5 separate regions of the Homo sapiens genome follow, and regions 2, 3, 4 and 5 are each linked to region 1. The links are contacts of gene promoters, found by promoter capture Hi-C in blood cells and fetal thymus (Javierre and others, 2016). All regions are on one chromosome and are shown on one strand. The core of a region is centred on a gene start or on the middle of the fragment in contact, and the rest is flanking DNA. Distances in the headings are between cores, read along the strand shown. Region 1 holds the start of CTDSP2 (CTD small phosphatase 2). Region 2 holds the start of LOC124902941 (a long non-coding RNA gene). Region 3 overlaps RAB5B (RAB5B, member RAS oncogene family). Region 4 overlaps ERBB3 (erb-b2 receptor tyrosine kinase 3). Region 5 overlaps ATP5F1B (ATP synthase F1 subunit beta).

Region 1 (2,526 bases), core at 15-2,514:
CGCGCCTCCACCTGACGCTCTGGAAGGCGGGGGCCGCCAGCCGCTGCCCACAGAGAACTCGCACTTTTTCGCTGCGCGATTCAGAACCACGCCGGGTCTGATGCCATCCGGCGAATTATGTAACCAGGGACACCGCTCCCGGGCTAAACAAACGCGGCTCTGTGTGTGCAGCGCCGGCCCCGGGGGAGCGCACCGGGCAGGGAGGGGCTCTGGCCGGGCCTCAGGGTCGGGCTTGTTTGCTCAGCGAAACTGGTCAGAGGCAGCCGGGAGGGAGCCCGACGCCGCCAAGGTCCCGGGGCCTGCGCTGAGCCGGGAACCCGCCACGTCTGGTGCGCCAGGGCCCGGGCCCCTCCCCCACCGCGACCGCCCCCGCCTCCAAGAGGTGAACTTGGTCCCAAGTCCCGCCGGACGCCGTCACCGCCAGCTAGCTGCCCGAACGACCTCGGGCTTGGGGGGGCCTGCAAGTGCTGGACTCCAGTCTCGGTTCCGTTCCACCTGGGGCTCCCTCTGTCACCTTCCTAACCCCTCCCCGCGATCCCGGGGCAGCCGCGCGCGGCGGTGAAGGAAAGTGACGACCCCACCCCCAACTCCGGAGGCGGTGGACGCGGAGTGGCCCAGTGCTTCGAGAGCTACCCCTCCGTCTCTCAGCCCCGAGGGGGAGGGGTTGCGGGACAGGGTGACAGCTGCGCCGAAGACGCCCTTTCCGCTCGGGCGCCGGGATCCCCGTGCAACCCCCACGGAGGTCTGAGTGCCAGCCGGGATGCGGGGGCGGATGGACCGGAGGGGTCCAGTCGGGATCGCTGGCTCTAAGCCCTGGAGGTCAAGGGCCGAGACCTGGGTTCGGGGCTGTGCTAGCCCCCTCCGCGCCCGGGGGCGACGCAAAGTTTTGGGAAGTTGCTGCCCCTACCTTGCTTGGTGAGCACCAGGGCGTCTTCCCTCCGCGCCTGGGTGATGATGGAGCCGTGTTCCATCTAACAATCCCGCGGGCCCGGGCTGGCTGGGCGGGAGGACGGGCGGGCGCGCGGGCTGGGCTGGGCTGGGGGGCCTGGGCGGGGGCCCGCTCCGGCTCCCGAGACTCCGACTTCCACAGCTGTTCACATCCCCCCTCTCGTTTCCTCCCCGGACCGGGAAGGGAGGCGGCCTGTACAAAGGGCGGGCGGCCCGGGCAGCGGCTCCCCCGGGTGCCCCCGGCCCCGATCCCCCAGCGGCAGCTCCGGGCTCCTCAGTTTGGGTCCAACATGGAGAATCCGGAGCGAAAACAAGAGGAGGAAATGGGACACGGGGCGGTTTCCAGGCTCCCCCCTCCCCTCCGTACTCCAGATAAACAACCCGCGGCTGCAGCGCCCACCCCCGCGCGCCTCCCGGCTCTCGACTCGGCCTCTTCACGGCCAGCTGGAGCTTCCCGCTGGGGGCTGCGTCCTAGGCCCTGGGACCCTCCATCTGTGAGCGGCCGGGGCTGCGGACAGTCGGGAGCTTTGCTATTTTGTTACGGAAAAAGCGAATCCTCAAGGGGGGTGGGGTGGCGGGCGGGCAGGCTGGCGGGGGAGACTTGAAACCGTTCCGGTGCTCCGATTGGCTCTCTTGGAGAAAAGGGGCGTGGCCCCTCCTTACTATGCGGTGAGAGGACCTAACAACATTCCAGGCGCCACGGCCACGCCCCCGGGCCACTCCCCCCGCGCCAGACTGCGGCCTCCCAGTCTCCTCGGCCACACCCCCTTCCCAACTATTTAAAAGGCCGCTCCGAAGCTCACGTTCTGGTGCTCTGTGCTGGGGTGTTCTTTTCTCGGAGGGCGCACTCGGGGAAGGTGGAAAGGTTTCCCCCTTCAGGGGTGACCAAGACAAGCCGCTAAGCCTAACCTGACTCCAGCAGGGGATGGGGCGGATCGGAAGTTACCTTACCCCCCTGCTTAGCCCTAGAATCAAGGACGTACCAAGTCACATAAAAGTACAACCGTCGAGGCCAGGCGCGGTGGCTCACGCCTGTAATCCCAGCACTTTGGAAGGCCGAGGTGGGTGGATCACGAGGTCAGGAGTTCAAGACCAGCCTGGCCAAGATGGTGAAACCCCGTCTCTACTAAAAATACAAAAAAATTAGCCGGGCGTGGTGGCGGGCGCCTGTAATCCCAGCTACTCGGGAGGCTGAGGCAAAGACTTGCTTGAACCCGGGAGGCGGAGATTGCAGGTAGCCGAGATCGCGCCACTGCACTCCAGCCTGGGCGACAGAGCGAGACTCTGTCTCAAAAAAAAAAAAAAAAAAGTACAACCTTCGAATCCCGAAAGGGGTGTGTGCGTGTGGGCGGACCTAGGACTCCAGAGTATAAGAGCTGGAACTGACCTCGGGACTGTGTCCCCCAAAACACTGAAAATGAGACCTGAGGTGCTGGGCTTTCCTCACACCCACCGACTTACTCCCATTTAGGCGGCCCCGACTCCGCCCCTCCTCCCTACCTCCCTCATCCTACCCCTCTCTTTTTGCCCCCACAGTCCCAGCTTCCTTTAGATGGATGGAGGTCTCTCGGAGGAGCT
Region 2 (2,526 bases), core at 12-2,511, 1.9 Mb before region 1:
CCCATAAATAAAAAAAAATACTCCCATAGAAATAAAAACACCTAGTGATCAGATCTTAGTTTTTAACATTACTCTTTAGTAAAAAGAACAAGGGCTTCTTGGAGAAATGGCAGACCGCAGGACTGGAGCAGAGAACAAAATCATACCTGCAATGATGGCAAATGTCAAAGGGAGATGGGCCAAGTAAAAAACTAAAAGAGTTCCCAATGTTCAAAACTGGAACATTTGAGCAATAAAGCAAATAAAATAGTATTGGATTATAACCTAACATATAAAATACACATCTATAAGTCCATATTGATATACATAAATTAATAAAGGAAAAGAAAAAAATCTCCTGGGCAGAAAAATGCCAAATAGTGTGTTTTTTTAATTGTTTTTTGAGACAGCCTCTCACTGAGGATGGAGTACAGTGGCACAATCACGGCTCAATGCAGCCTCAGCCTCCCTGGCTCAATCTTCCCCTCTGAGGCTCCCTGAGTAGCTGGGACCACAGGTGTGTGCCACCTTACCCAGCTCGTTTTTTTTTTAAATCTTTTTGTAGATAAGAGGTCTTGCTATGTTGCTTAGGATGGCCTCAAGCAATCCTCCAGCCTCAGCCTCCCAAAGTGCTGGGATTACAGGCATATGCCACCATGCCCAGCCCTTAATCTCTTTTTTTAAGGAGAGCACAACTCTCTACTCCTTATGCGTGGGCTGGCAATAGTGACTTCCCTACAGTATGGAAAGGAAGGGGGTAAAGCCTAACTTTACAGTGAAGCCTTACAAACAATATCTCTGCCAGATGATCACGGTCAATACTAACAGGCTGGGCATAGTGACTCATGCCTAGTAATCCCAGAATTTTGGTAGGCCAAAGGGGAACAATACCTTGAGCTCAGGAGTTCAAGACCAGCCCAGGCAACATAGTGAGACCATCTTTACCAAAAAAAAAAAAAAAAAAAAAATTAGCTGGTCATGATAGCACACGCCTGTGGTCCTAGATACTCAGGAGGCTGAGGTGGGAGGATCAATTGAGACTGGGAGGTCAAGATTTCAGTGAGCCATGATGGCATCACCGCACTCCAGTCTGGGCAACAGAGGGAAGACCCTGTCTCAAAAAAACAAAAATATTAACAGTAAAAAATCATTGTGATACTATGTACCCTGATACAATGTGATGAAAATGTCACTTTACCTCTGTGGTCTTCCTCCCCAAAACACATAACCCAAATCTAATCATGAGAAATACATCAGACAAATTCCAATAGAAGGATATCCTACAAAATACCTGACCAGTACTCCTCAAAACTCAAGGTCATGGAAAACAAGGAAAGCCTGAGAAAATGTCACAGCCAAGAGGAGCTTAAAGAGACATGAGAACTAAATGTTATGTAGTACCCTGGATAAGATCCTGGAACAACAAAAAAAAATTAGGTAAAAAGGCTGGGCGCAGTGGCTCACACCTGTAATCCCAGCACTTTGGGAGGCCGAGGTGGGCAGATCACCCGAGGTCAGGAGTTTGAGACCAACCTGACCAACATGGAGAAACCCATCTCTACTAAAAATACAAAATTAGCCGGGCATGGTGGCACATGCCTGTAATCCCAGCTACCCAGGAGGCTGAGGCAGGAGAATCACTTGAACCCGGGAGGCAGAGGTTGCGGTGAGCTGAGATCTCACCATTGCACTCCAGCCTGGGCAACAAGAGCAGAACTCCGTCTCAAAAAAATAGTAATAAATAAATAAATATAAAAATAAATTAAGTAAAAACTAAGGAAATCAGCCAGGCATGGTGGTTCACACCTGTAATTCTAGCACTTTGGGAGGCCAGGGCGTGAGGATTGCTTGAGCCCAGGAATTTGAGATCAGACTGGGCAACAGAGCAAGACCGCATTTCTACAAAAAATACAAAAATTAGCCAGGCGTGGTGGTGTGTACCTGTAGTCCCAGCTACTCAGTAGGTTGAGATGTGAGGATCACTTGAGCCCAGAAGTTAAGACTACAGTAAATGGTGATTGCACCACTGCACTCCAGCCTGGGTGACAGAGCAAGACCCTGTCTGAAAAAAAAAAAAAACAAAACTAATGAAATGATGTATGGATTCTAGTTAATAGTAATATATCAATATTGCTTCATTAATTGCAAGCAAAGTACTATATTAACGTAAGATGACAGTAATGGGGAAACTGAGTGTAGGGTATATGGGAAATCTCTGTAGCATCTTCTCAATTTTTCTATAAATCTAAAAGTGTTCTAAAAAATCAAGTATATTTAGAATATTAAAAAAAGAAATGGCTAGGCGTGGTGACTCATGCCTGTAATCCCAGCACTTTGGGAGGCCAAGGCTGGCAGATCACGAGGTCAGGAGTTCGAGGCCAACCTGACCAATATGATGAAACCCTGTCTCTACTAACAATACAAAAATTAGCCAAGCGTGGTGACATGTGCCTGTAATCCCAGCTACTCAGGAGGCTGAGGCAGAAGAATCACTTGAACCAGGGAGGCGGAGGTTGCAGTGAGCCGAGATCGCGCTACTGCACTCCA
Region 3 (2,526 bases), core at 16-2,515, 1.9 Mb before region 1:
ATATGTCACCTGAAGGAAACTTGATCAGCTTATCATCTGTCCTTTTTTTTTTATTATGGTGTCACCTGTCTTCTCTTTTATTTATTTTTTATTTTGAGAGACGGAGTCTTGCTCTGTTGCCCAGGCTGGAGTACAGTGGCATAATCTCAGCTCACTGCAACCTCCGCCCTCTGGGTTCAAGCGATTCTCCTGCCTCAGCTTCCCAAGTAGCTGGGACTACAGGCATGTGGCGCTACACCCAGCTAATTTTTGTATTTTTTAGTAGAGACGGGGTTTCACTATATGTTGGCCAGGCTGGTCTCAAACTCCTGACCTCTCAAACACCAGAGTGAGACTCTCTCTAAAAATGGAAAATAAATTTTAAAATGTTATAATTAAAGATACTCATTTAAATTGAATAAATTTAGCTTTATGAAAAATTTGCTGTATCATCTTTATTTTGATCCTTTCGTCATAGGCCATTGAAAACTTAATCATAAAATGGTACATGTATATCTGAATTTTTAAGACTGACTGACCAAGGGGACTACAGAATACCCAGTAGAATCAAAGTAATTGTCATGTTCCTCTGTATTAATCTAGTCTACTTTGGGACCTTGAGTTCTCACCTCTCATTCTTTTGCTAACTTCCTCTTTACCCTTTAGTTATGTCTCCTTTTTTTTTTTTTTTTTTTTCCAGAGATAGCGTCTTGTTCTGTCGCCCAGGCTGGAGTGCAGTGGTGTAATCAGCTCACTACAACCTTCAACTCCTGGGCTCCAGTGATTCTCCCACCACAGCCTCTGGAGTAGCTGGGATTACAGGCACATACCACCATGCCCAGCTAATTTTTTTAAATGTTTTCTAGAGACTCAGTCTCGCTATGTTGCCTAGGCTGGTCTCAAACTCCTCACCTCAAGCAAGGCTTCCCCTTTTATCTCCCAAACCCCTGGGATTACAGGCATGGGCCGCTCTGCCAGGCCTGTTTTTTCTCTTTTTCTTTCTCTGTACCACTTTCATATTGTGGCTTCTTCCCTGCCCCCGATCTCCCCCCTACCCACCCCAGGTGGAGTCTTGCTCTGTTACCCAGGCTGGAGTGTGGTGGCACGATCTCGGCTCACTGCAACCTCCGCCTCCCGGGTTTAAGCAGTTCTGCCTCAGCCTCCCGAGTAGGATTACAAATGCCGGCCACCAACCACACCCGGCTAATTTTTTTTTTTTTTTTTTAGACTGAGTCTCGCTGTTGCTCTGTCGCCAGGCTGGAGTACAGTGGTGCAATCTCAGCTCACTGCAACCTCCACCTCACAAGTTCAAGCAGTTCACCTGCCTCAACCTCCCAAGTAGCTGGGACTACAGGCACGCGCCACCACGCCCAGCTAATTTTTGTATTTTTAGTAGAGACGGGGTTTCACCATGTTTGCCAGGCTTGTCTCAAACTCCTGACCTCCTGATCTGCCTGCCTTTGCCTCCCAAAGTGCTGGGATTACAGGCGTGAGCCACTGTGCCCGCCTTTTATTTTTTGAGACGGAGTCTCGCTCTGTCACCCAGGCTGGAGCACAGTGGCGCATCAGCTCAGTGCACCCTCTACCTTCTGGGTTTAAGCGATTCTCCTGCCTCAGCCTCTGGAGTAGCTGGGATTACAGGTATGCACCACCACACCCAGCTAATTTTTTTTGTATTTTTAGTGGAGACGGGGTTTCACCATGTTGGCCAGGCAGGGCTCGAACTTCTGACCTCAGGTGATCCACCTCAGCCTCCCAAAGTGCTGGGATTATAGGTATGAGCTACTGCACCCAGGCTGTGGCTGCTTTTTAGGAATATATTGATAACAACTAATATTGAGATATATTTTAATAGCTATTAGCACTATGCTAAACACATCTTTCACTTATTATTTGTAGCTATGAGGATGGTATTTTTTCCATTTTACAAAGGTAGAAGGTAAGGCTTAGAGAGGTAGAGAAATTCTCTTTATATCATATTAGTAATGATTAGTAGCTTAATATTTATTTAGCACTTAGTATCTATCAAATACTTAAAATACTTTAGTTATTTATATGCATTATCTCATTTAATCCTTACAACACCCTTATGAAGTAGGTGCTTATAAGGCTATTATCTCATTTTACAGATGAGGAAATGAATGCACACATATATTTAGTGACTTGCTCAAGGTTCATAGCTAGTAAGTAGAGCTGAAAAACAAACGTGGAGAATTGGACTCCAGAGCCTTTATTCCTCTGAATTGCCTCCTGTATGATTTTCTGTCTTTACGATCTAGTAAGTGGGGTTACTGAAAATTTTTAACCCCAGTTTAACTCCAGTCCCACTAATTGTGGTGACAAAATAATGATGTTTCCCCACATATGCCATAGAGTATGATGTCTGTGAAGTCACTAGGATCTGCTTTGGAAAAGCGAAAGAGTAATTTGAACAAGCAAAGTACAACTCTCAAGCAATGCTTAGGTTTGGGAGAGAGGTTTTTGCATGCTCTGCCTATGCTAACTTCCCTTTGAATTTCATAGTTCCTTTCCGCTCAGAGTCAGGAT
Region 4 (2,526 bases), core at 9-2,508, 1.8 Mb before region 1:
GGACGGGGTGTCTAGGGACAGGGTGGGGCAGCCCCCCTCCTGGATAGAATCGCCTCATTGTGGGCTGGACTGTGGCCCCAGGCACTGCCCCCACCCTCTGCCCCCATCCCACCCTCAGTAGACACAATAGGGGCTGTGTACTAGTCCCAAAGAGATATTTATTCCAGGACCTAGAGAGAGGCAGGATGAGGGTAGAGAAGTGAGTGCCCTAGTTGGAGGGGGAGAGGAGGGTAATCAAAGTTGCGGCCTTTTCCTAACTTCTCTTTTCTAGGGAGAGAAACAAATTCCCTGTCTTCCTTCTCAGTTAACCCCTTAGTACCCAAAAGAAGCACAGAGGGGTCCCAGGTTGAAAAAGGAAATCTTTTCACCTTCCCATTCATGGAATGGTAAGGGGATTCTGAGAAGAGAGAAAGCTCTCAGGCCACTACAGCTTCTGCCTATCGCTTGTGGGAGGGTTGGAGGCAAATGCCATCTGATCCTGTCTAATGTAACTGGAAGAGGGCAACCAAGGGGGTGATCTTTGGGGATGGCAGATGGGCTGAGAATTTGTGTCCAGCCCTCAGCCACTCTTCCCTCTGCTTTGAACAGTGTGTCCTGGGACTCTGAATGGCCTGAGTGTGACCGGCGATGCTGAGAACCAATACCAGACACTGTACAAGCTCTACGAGAGGTGTGAGGTGGTGATGGGGAACCTTGAGATTGTGCTCACGGGACACAATGCCGACCTCTCCTTCCTGCAGGTTAGTGAGCCCACCCTCCTTCCTCAACCTGCTCCTCTTTATTCTCCCCTAGAACCCTCCTTCCTTCTTCAGGGCTACCTTCTGCTGGAGTTCACCCTTCCTAAGACTCAGGAGTTCCTAAGATTCAAAACCGTGTATTTATGGGGACAGTGGCTGTCATCTGGGACCTATGGTCTCACTGTTGTAGCCAGGGATATATAGGGGGCAGGGTCAGGGGCAGGTGGTGTTCTGTGGATAGTGCAAGGTCAGCAGGGACTAGTGCAGAGAGAAACCTGAGGACCAAGAGGTTACCTGGGGAGATGAGGAAGGGGCCCTACTGGTATGAGGCACTTTGAGGAGAAAGCTGCCTGTCTTCACTCCCAGAAGTGACACAGCAGTGTGACACAGTCTACTCCCTACTCCCAAATAGGAATTAGCAAGAGTTAAGGCCAGGTGCAGTGGCTCATGCCTGTAATCCCAGCACTTTGGGAGGCCAAGGAAGGCAGATCACTTGAGGTCAGGAGTTCAAGACCAGCCTGGGCAATGTGGTGAAACGCTGTCTCTACAAAAATACAAAAATTAGCTGGGTATGGTGGCATGCACCTGTAGTCCCAGCTACTTGGAGGGCTGAGGTGGGAGGATTGCTTGAGCCCAGGAGTTTGACGCTGCAGTGAGCGAGATTGTGCCACTCGTAACAGAGCGAGACCCTGTCTCACCAAAAAAAAAAAAAAAGGCCAAGCTCGGATCACCTGAGGTCAGGAGTTCGAGACCAGCCTGACCAACATGGAAAAACCACATCTCTACTAAAAATACAAAATTAGCCAGGTGTAGTGGCACATGCCTGTAATCCCAGCTACTTGGGAGGCTGCGGCAGGAGAATTGCTTGAACCCGGGAGGTGGAGGTTGTGGTGAGCCAAGATCGCACTATTGTACTCCAGCCTGGGCAACAAGAGCGTAACTCCGTCTCAAATTTTAAAAAAAAGAAAAAAAGAAAGGAAAGAAAGAAGGAAGAATTAAAACAGTTAAAGAGTCTTTAATGCCTGAAGGAGGAGAGGAGATTGAGATTATTTTGCCCTGTTGTCTCTCTCATTTACATAATCTGCTCTGTCACAGTGGATTCGAGAAGTGACAGGCTATGTCCTCGTGGCCATGAATGAATTCTCTACTCTACCATTGCCCAACCTCCGCGTGGTGCGAGGGACCCAGGTCTACGATGGGAAGTTTGCCATCTTCGTCATGTTGAACTATAACACCAACTCCAGCCACGCTCTGCGCCAGCTCCGCTTGACTCAGCTCACCGGTCAGTTCCCGATGGTTCCTTCTGGCCTCACCCCTCAGCCAGCCCAAGACTGGTACCTCCTTGATGATGACCCAAGACTGCTCACTCTAAGTGCCTCTTCCAAGGTGCCTGTCACCTTGGCCGCTGTCTAAAGGTCCATTGCTCCCTAAGCAATAGAGGGCCCCCAGTAGGGGGAGCTAGGGGCATCTGCTCCAGGGAAAGGAACCCTGTGTCCTTGTGGGGCTGGAGTCAGAGCTGGATCTGTTAACCGTTTTTCTAATTTCAAAGTACAGTGTACCGGAGGCCAGGCCTGATGGCTTACACCTGTAATCCCAGCATTTTGGGAGGCCAAGGAGGGCAGATCACTTGAGATCAGGAGTTTGAGACCAGCCTGGCCAACATGGCGAAACCCTGTCTCTACTAAAAATACAAAAAAATAAAATAAAATAAAAAATTAGCTGGCTATAGTGGTGCGCACCTGTAATCCCAGCTGTTCATGAGGCTGAGGCAGGAGACTCGCTTGAACCT
Region 5 (2,526 bases), core at 14-2,513, 1.2 Mb before region 1:
AACCACACAGCCTGAACTGCTGTAGGGTGATGTCCCTGTGTGACAGACTGGGGTGGGGAGGGAGGAGGGAAGGGCGGGGCTTTCTCTGGGTGGAGAGAGGGAGGAGGCGAGGACAGGGCAGACCAGGAGAAATATGGAGGAAGGTTAGAGAGCTGTGTTGACACTCCAGTGGCATGGTAGAAGAGGCCGGCAAAGGGGGAAGGAAACAAATAGTTGCAGCTACTGAGAGGGAGAAGGTTCTCGATAAACGCTGAAGGACGTGAACATGTTGGGGGAAGGGGTGGAGGGATGCAAAAGACCTTTAGGATTTCAGTTCCCAGGTCTGTATCGGGTGACGTGAGAAAACAAAGCAGAAAGGGCTGACCTGTACCCTAGGGCTTTTTCTACCAGCTTCTTACCCACTCCAGAGTCAGGACCTAGAGGAAGTGTCCACACCCCCATAACTCAGCATTTCCCCAAATCCCAGCTTTTCTGGGAGCAAACTACCAGCACAAGCAGCTCAGGGGCTCCACCTTCTGTCCAGATCATGACACAGGAGAGACTGCGGGAGAGGCTGCTGCCAAGGACGTCACAGGCAGATGGAAGGAAGCTTAGAGGCCCCTACTCCACCCCTGGCCCCGCGCCAAAAAGCCCTCCCCAACCTTCAGCCCCCAGGGGCCTCTGAATTGGAGCTCAGCTTGTCCCCGCCCAGCTTCTACCTAACTTGATGGACTCAGCGGGTGGAGCTTATAGATACAGGCTCCTCCCCAGGACAAAAGCCCCAGCTGGTCTGTAAACAGTCTTTAACTGAGAGCCACATCCCAGCAAATGGCCTTCATGGATTTGAAAATGGGATCAGAGTTCTTGCAGAGTCTCCAGTGCTACCGCGAGAGGGCAGTCGGATGGGTCTGGTCCCGGAAAAGAACACAAGAGGAACCCAATCTGACCTTGCACGCTTCTTTTAAATTGAAATGGTAAAATATATCTTCTACCCCTGCACCTCTCAGTCGGCTAAAATGAAGGGAAAATAACCTAACTTCATTAGTTTAGAAGCCCAAGCCAGCAACTCTGAAAATTGCTATTCCCTTGTAAGATTATCTTTTCTGGACTTTCATAAGGGGATCTTCACAGAGGGTGGACTAGGCCTTATGGTATTATATGCCTCTGCATAGCCTCAAGGAATCACAAGCAACTTTTATTTAGGCTTGCCCAAAATGTCAGGAAGTAGTTAAGTACACTTTCTGAAGACATGAAGGCCTAACCAAGATGTAGAGAACCCTTTTGATTCCATTTTAACAAAGATCAGTATTCTTCATCACTATTTCTTGAAAATTTAATTCATTAAACTCAGATTAACCCCTGGAAATAAGTTATTTCTAAAACGAGTTTTTCCCAATATGCCCTTCAAAAAAGTCCTATTTTTAACCAAGAAGTAGGGATGTGCCACATGGAATAGAGGCCAAAAAAAAAAAAAAATCAATTTGTATTGAACAAAAGGCCCAAAACTGAGGCCCTACTAAGATCACACTACCCACAGGAAACCCCTCACAAGAGGTACGGTTGTCCATCAACAAAAGAGAATGGCTATTTTTAAGGACCAATTTCAAACATACATGGCCCACTTCATGCTGAAACTGCTTCTTATAGCCACTCTAAAAATCTAATTGTTGAAAACAGTGCTGGTGATGTGAGACTACATACACCTGTAGCCCCAGCTACTCAGGAGACTGAGGTGGGAGATCTCGAGCCCAGGAGTTAGAGACCAGTCTTGGCAACACAGCCAGACACCGTGTCTCTAAAACTAAAATTAAATACATAACCCTTCAGTGTTGACTATGTTGTCAGAACCAAGAGAATCAGACAAATTCTGAGGGGTGTACATTTTATTGGAAACCTTAAATACTGTTCAGAAAGAATATATCTTCAATCAAGGCTCTTGTGCAGCCTACACAGAAAAATGAAGCTTTTTGGGTTAGGGGCAAGGAGAGAGACAGTACAGAGGACAAAGACCCCTCACGATGAATGCTCTTCAGCCAGCTTATCAGCTTTTGCCACAGCTTCTTCAATGGGTCCCACCATATAGAAGGCCTGTTCTGGGAGATGGTCATATTCACCTGTATGATGGGGGAGAAAAAAAAAAAGAGTAAGAAGCGGAGGGATATCAACTTTCTGCATCATGTAACATTCCTCACCACTTCAGGCCATCAGTTAGAATGTGATGAATTCATGTCATCTTAGAAAGCTTAAATTTCCCTCACAAATCAAATTTACAAGATATGATACAGTATGAATTAAGAACACATGGGCCAGGCACGGTGGCTTACACCTGTAATCCCAGCACTTTGGGAGGCCAAGGCAGGCGGATCACCTAAGGTCAGGAGTTCGAGACAAGCCCAGCCAACATGGTGAAACCCCATGGCTACTAAAAATACAAAAATTAGCCAGGCGTGGTGGCGTGTGCCTGTAATCCCAGCTACTTGGATGGTTGAGGCTGGAGAATCACTTGAACCCGGCAGGTGGAGGTTGCAGTGAGCCAAGATTGCACCA

Evidence for each region. Contacts are between HindIII fragments. The CHiCAGO score rates a contact against its expected background, and 5 or more counts as called.
Region 2: a contact is called between a fragment that was not itself captured here and the fragment with the promoter of CTDSP2 in region 1, in 1 of 17 cell types (non-activated CD4 T cells). The highest score is 5.4, in non-activated CD4 T cells.
Region 3: a contact is called between a fragment that was not itself captured here and the fragment with the promoter of CTDSP2 in region 1, in 1 of 17 cell types (M0 macrophages). The highest score is 6.3, in M0 macrophages.
Region 4: a fragment that was not itself captured here is called in contact with the fragment with the promoter of CTDSP2 in region 1 in 1 of 17 cell types (monocytes); the score reaches 5.2 in monocytes.
Region 5: a fragment that was not itself captured here is called in contact with the fragment with the promoter of CTDSP2 in region 1 in 1 of 17 cell types (fetal thymus); the score reaches 6.5 in fetal thymus.

What each region holds. Positions count from the first base shown.
Region 1 is chr12:57,845,465-57,847,990 of GRCh38, forward strand. CTDSP2 (CTD small phosphatase 2) reads right to left here and starts at 1,265. Exons shown (of 8, transcript NM_005730.4): 1 at 908-1,265. The coding sequence starts at 971. RefSeq lists silencers at 87-386, 977-1,406, 1,417-1,496, 1,567-1,746. The HindIII fragment of the contact is 5,566 bases long and covers 1-2,526 here.
Region 2 is chr12:55,921,521-55,924,046 of GRCh38, forward strand. All of the region lies in intron 1 of PYM1 (PYM1 exon junction complex associated factor), which reads right to left. It overlaps LOC124902941 (a long non-coding RNA gene), which reads right to left and starts at 2,251. Exons shown (of 2, transcript XR_007063325.1): 1 at 1,921-2,251. The HindIII fragment of the contact is 7,726 bases long and covers 1-2,526 here.
Region 3 is chr12:55,983,000-55,985,525 of GRCh38, forward strand. All of the region lies in intron 1 of RAB5B (RAB5B, member RAS oncogene family), which reads left to right. Among named protein-coding and RNA genes, the nearest start is that of RAB5B, 10 kb to the left of the region's middle. The HindIII fragment of the contact is 3,145 bases long and covers 1-2,526 here.
Region 4 is chr12:56,083,163-56,085,688 of GRCh38, forward strand. ERBB3 (erb-b2 receptor tyrosine kinase 3) reads left to right here. Exons shown (of 28, transcript NM_001982.4): 2 at 589-740; 3 at 1,833-2,019. Among named protein-coding and RNA genes, the nearest start is that of ERBB3, 4.3 kb to the left of the region's middle. The HindIII fragment of the contact is 4,298 bases long and covers 1-2,526 here.
Region 5 is chr12:56,636,331-56,638,856 of GRCh38, forward strand. ATP5F1B (ATP synthase F1 subunit beta) reads right to left here. Exons shown (of 10, transcript NM_001686.4): 10 at 1,845-2,093. The coding sequence ends at 1,993. It also overlaps a transcript of BAZ2A not described here. Among named protein-coding and RNA genes, the nearest start is that of SNORD59B, 6.2 kb to the right of the region's middle. RefSeq lists enhancers at 408-577, 551-1,062, 555-849. The HindIII fragment of the contact is 1,353 bases long and covers 588-1,940 here.